Regions from separate parts of the Homo sapiens genome. Here region 1 is linked to region 2. Evidence: promoter capture Hi-C in 16 types of primary human blood cells and fetal thymus (Javierre and others, 2016). All regions are on one chromosome and are shown on one strand. Each heading gives the region's core, a stretch centred on a gene start or on the middle of the fragment in contact. The rest is flanking DNA. Distances are from core to core; before and after follow the strand shown.

Region 1 (2,700 bases), core at 176-2,675, 210 kb before region 2:
TATTCTGAGTTACCTACATCTTTAAGTTTTTTTCTTCACTATGAAAAATAAAGATTATTTTAAAAACTCATTAATTCTGCTTTGGTGCTTTTGCCTTTTCTGAATCTAAACATTCATGTCTTTCATTATTTCTGGAAAATTTTCAGCCATGCTTTCTTTAAATATTTCCTCTTCCAATTGTGTGTTTTGTCTTTTAATGAAATTCCTATTGGGCTCATATTGGATTTCATACTAATTTTCATATATCTTAACTTCTTTCGTATTCAACACTTCTTTATCTCTATATTGCATTAGAGGAAATTCTTCAGCTCTCCCAATTTAGAAGTCTTTTTAAATTGCTTTCTGTCTTTGTTGTTTAATCTACTCATTGAGTTTTTATAGTAATTAGCGTTTATATTTCTAGAAGTTTAATTTGCTTTAAAATATGTTTGATATTTTTTGATAATGTCTTTTCAAACCTTTTGACTTTAAGGTTTTAAAATATAAATTCCTCTATATGTGATATCTTAGGGAAATGAAACTATTTATTCTGTCTGCCAACTTTCCTTCATCATGGAATCTTTCTCCCTGTGCTAAGTTTGGATGGTGACCTCATCTTAGGAAAGGCTTTTTGTGAAATATCCTTTGCAGCTTGTATTGAGGGTGGTTCTCTTGAGATAACTTTGCTTTAAATTCCACCAGGTGGCACACCTGGAATTACATTTGTTTTGTTTTGTTTTGTTTTGTTTTGAGACAGAGACTTGCTCTGTCGCCCAGACTGGAGTGCAGAGGCGCGATCTTGGCTCACAGCAACCTCCGCCTCCTGGGCCCAAGAGATTCTCGTGCCTAGGCCTCCTGAGTAGCTGAGATTACAGTTGTGCGCAACCACGCCTGGCTAATTTTTGTCTTTTTAGTAGTGACAAAGTTTCGCCATGTTGGCCAGGCTGGTCTGAAACTCCTGAACTCAGGTGATCCGCCCGCCTAGGCCTCTCAAAATGCTGGGATTATAGGTGTGAGCCACTGTGCACAGCATGGAATTACTTTTAAAATTAATTTCTTAGTTTGTGAATTTCAGGCTCATGCAAGTAGATACTTTTGAACTTCAAACTCAGACCTGTGATTAGCAATTCTCAGAAGGAGAAAAACCAAAAAACAATCCAATCCATATAATTGGATGGATTTTTTTTCTACTCTATTTGTCCATTCTATCACTGAAGTGAGGATATAGCAGAAGCCTCAGTTGCAAGTCTTATTACCTATTTTTTTTTTTTTAAATCCTAAGGCCTTGTTTCCTGATCCAAGTGACTAACAGTAGCCAAACTCCTAGGGATCTATACAAGACAATGCTTAATATGTCCAGGTGTGGATCCTGTTTGCCTTTCTGGGTTTCCATTTCTTTGCCCCCTAGAGAGCTTTCTTTATTTCATTGTAAATGCAGCTATGCATTTAAAAATAATTTTTAAAAATCTTGCATTTCTGGGTGTTTTGTGTTAGTATGTCTTTGCAGGTCATGTAGTGTGCTGTCTTTCCAGAAGCAGAATCCCTGGCTGTTTTATGTGTTACGCACAGAAATCCAAGGGTCATGTGACAAGGCAATGCTTCAGGTTAGGAAAGTGAGTCCAGGAGGAGGGACTGAGGTTAGATTGAATGGATAGGAAGTATGAGAAATTGAAGAGGAGGCTCTGGGAGCTGAGATAAAGGCTAAGGGAGGATGACAGTGAAGACAGAGAAGAGAGAGAAAGGTGGAGGAAGAACACATGTATGGGAAGGAACAGGAGCACAGTAAGACACAAAGAATAAGCCATAGTGATATTAGAGACTATTCAGTTCTTTCAATCTAGTTATTTTACAGATAAAGAAACTGAGGCCAAAGTGTTAAGGATCTCTCCAATTCAACACCTCCAACAGGTGTCCCATGTGGGGGTTCATCTTGACTCAGTCTACAGCTCCTTTTACTGTAAGAGATGTGCGTGAGAGGCCAGCAGCACACAGGCAGATAAAGCGAGTCCTTCCAGAAGCCAGAATGGCAAGGAAAAACTTGAAGCAGAGTGAGAGGGAAAATGAGAAGCCCAGAAAAGGCATGTGGTTATGAGAGGCAGTGGTTTCTGTGGCCAGGAAATTGAGGTTTCTGTTAGTGAAGAGGAGGAAGTCAGATGAGATGAGACCATGTGGGGAGGGGAGCTTTCATATCTGGGTTCTGAGGAGAGCTTCAATGGGGAAGGAAGAATTTAGGAGCCATGTTTGCGTTTGGAGGAGCAACAGGTAAGTGCTGCTACAGTGAACAGGAACATGCTTTTGGCCTGAACACCAATGGTTCAAGAAAGTGGATCCTGGGGAAAGGTTTGGTGGCAAAGGGAAGAATATGGACTTGCCTAGGATAGCTGGGACACCTGTCTGATTGAGTTCTAATCAGGGTATATGTTATTCACACTAGTTTGCTTCTCTGGGGTTTCCTGTGTCCAGGGAGTACAAAATTATCAGTGATTAGTGATAGCCATCCCCTTCTCTCTTAATTATTTTCCTTTTCTCCAGTTCTGGTCACCTTCCTTACCTATTTTATCTCTTGATTTTTCCCTAGCATTCTGCTCTTTCTCAGCCCCCACCCCCAATTTCTCAGCACCCCCAGCCAGCTCCCAAGAAGCCCTGTTCCCTTCTGTTCCCTCCTTCAGATCCTGCCCTGTACCCATCATAGCTGAGTGAACACTCAGGAGTGGAGTTGGC
Region 2 (2,700 bases), core at 27-2,526:
TAGGTATTGGCACAGAGCCAGTGCAGTAACTGAGCCTCAAGTAAACCGTTTCATATTCCACCAGGTCACCTCCTTCTGAGCGGTGGAATACACAGAGGCTTCCCAGTATTATTTAGTACATAATTATAATTCTCTCACTGACTTGTGAGGTCACTTCTGCCAAAGACCAAGTTCTCAAATACACATACATTAATTTCTGAGCTCTCCTTTCTGTCTCTATACTACTTATTTCTTCTTGCACCAATAGCATGCTCTTTTTTATTACTAAAGCATAGTTTTTTTTTACTAGGAAGAGTGAGGGCCTATATTACTTGCCCTTTACAAAATTGTTTTATAATTTCATGAAAATTTTGGAAATCTGATTGTCAGGGTGACTTCAAAATTTATGCATGGATTTGGGTTGGAATTATATTGGCTTTATAGATTAGCTTGAACAAAATTCACAACTCTATATTATTTTGTCATTCTGGTAAAATGCATTAATAAGATAACACACTGTTTGATGACAGAGCTCAACTAGATTTAGTATACTTACTAAAATTTTAGGTTTTTGCAAAACATCTCAATGTTCTTAATTAGAGTTTCTAGGGGCAGCGCCCTGGAAAACATCATTCAACCCTCTTTTGATTCTTAGAAACACTGAAGTTGAGTGTCATTGGACAAATACATCAGTCTTCTGATTAAAATTCAGTAAAAATTTTCCACTTGGTCTGTTGCATTACAGTCTTAATTGTGGTGGGCTCTCCTTCAGAATCCATCACAACTTTCAAATGGACTCAACTTTCAAAGCATACATGGGCTAATTATGCTCATGACTTCAACTCCCCAGGCTCCTCAACTGAGGCCACCTTTGAGAAACTGGTGACATTATTTTTTCCAAAATGAACTTGACTCCTAATTAACCCCAAGACAACAGCTCCAGTGCAGTAGATCTAACCTCAGGAGTCCAGTGTTTACAGTACATGCTTCTAATAACCACATCCCACGTTGGTCATCAGAACTTCTGAAGATGGTGACTTATCTGGAGAAGCTGGGAGTCCTGATAGATGGAGGAGGCTAGCTCTGTTGATTCAGATGAGAGTTTCTATCTCAAGGCAGCTTCCCTCTCATTTGCTGTTATTTCCTCAGGCTCTGATTTGTGGCAGTGGTGCTACTTGTCAGGAGACTGCCAAATACTGAATAGCTGCTTCTCTCTAAATTAGAAGGGAGAGAGCAATGTAAGTACTTACCGAGCAGTGGGAACATTGACCTAGCTTGGGGATTTGTGGGGACTGGACTTGAATGATGGGTAGTGTTTGAGAAAGCCTCTTTCTGTGCCTCCCATGGAGATCAGTGATGGCATTTCTGGTAAGTAGCAGAGTTAAAAAGGAGAATCAGAGGCTACCTTTCACTGAACTTACTAAGAGTGACTGGGAATGGCCTTTATAATTCTCAGAATTTGGCTGGGTGTAGTGGCTCACCCCTGCAATCCCAACACTTTGAGAGGACAAGATGGGTGAATCACCTGAGGTCAGGAGTTTGAGACCAACCTGGCCAACATGATGAAACCCCGTCTCTACTAAAAATAAAAAAATTAGCCAGGCATGGTTGCGTGCACCTGTAATCCCAGCTACCTGGGAGGCTGAGGCAGGAGAATTTCTTGAACCTGGGAGGCAGAAGTTGCAGTGAGCCGAGACCGTGCCATTGCATTCCAGCCTGGGAAACAGAGTGAGACTCCTTCTGAAAAAAAAAAAAAAATTATCTGAATTGTTCTTGAAGATCATATTGGGTCATTCTTACTCATAGCTAGATTTTATTTTCTTTTTTCTTTTCCTTCCTTCCTTCCTTTCTTCCTTACTTCCTTCCTCCCTTCCTTCTTTCCTTCCTTCCTTCCTCCTCTACTTCTCTTTTTTGTTCATTGGTGGATTCATGGATTAAATGAAACAGATACTCCACTTGTCTCTCATCTCTCACTCTTCTACTTCTGTTTCTGCTGTGTACTCCTGGATGTATAATTTTAGGTATAATTGAAATCTAGTACTTAAACTCCATTTTAATATGGCAATCTGGAGAAATTAAAGATTTTTATTTGTATCTAAGAAGTTAAAATTTCACTCCTTTATTATCTGAAGCTGCTTACATAATTTCTCTCAGCTAACTGATTGATGTTTTCCTTAAAATAAATATTTATATTTCTTAAAAGTTTTACACGTGAAAACTCTGTAGATTGCCTTCTTTTGGGGGAACCCAGCACCCTCAAGTACTTTGTTTCTATTTAAATCCAGATTACATAAAATCCCAGTGGAGCATCTGAGGAATTAGAAAAATAAAACACTGAAGTAGCATCTCCAAGGATCATAGCCTGAATTCTATTCATACGTTCTAAAATATCACAATTAAGGGGATTTTGAGATCATCTAACTAGAGAGTCTTTGATTCTCTGAGCAAGAAAGGCTCCTAGGGGTCATAGTACTCCGATACTATCTTAGTCAAAATTCCTCTGTAAAATGTTCAGGGATCCTCTGCTTCAGTGCCTTCCACATATCCCAACAGTTTATTCCATTACTGTTTATGCTATCCCTTTAATTAAAAAAAAAACTAAATATTGAAGGTATATACTTCATCTAAAGTCACAGAAGACTAGACCTGAAACCTAAATCTTTTCACATCACCCTAAAGATCTTTCATCTTCATTTTACAGCTTGAACGTATTTTGTAGGA

The links. The method cuts DNA at HindIII sites, captures the fragments that hold promoters and counts their contacts. A CHiCAGO score of 5 or more calls a contact.
Region 1: a fragment that was not itself captured here is called in contact with the fragment with the promoter of OR10K1 in region 2 in 1 of 17 cell types (fetal thymus); the score reaches 8.6 in fetal thymus.

The regions. Positions count from the first base shown.
Region 1 is chr1:158,246,171-158,248,870 of GRCh38, forward strand. It overlaps a transcript of CD1A not described here. Among named protein-coding and RNA genes, the nearest start is that of CD1A, 6.9 kb to the right of the region's middle. The HindIII fragment of the contact is 6,630 bases long and covers 1-2,700 here.
Region 2 is chr1:158,460,558-158,463,257 of GRCh38, forward strand. It overlaps OR10K1 (olfactory receptor family 10 subfamily K member 1), which reads left to right and starts at 1,277. Exons shown (of 2, transcript NM_001004473.2): 1 at 1,277-1,347. LOC107985212 (a long non-coding RNA gene) reads right to left here and starts at 2,214. Exons shown (of 2, transcript XR_001738256.3): 1 at 1,614-2,214; 2 at 1-1,193. The HindIII fragment of the contact is 25,948 bases long and covers 1-2,700 here.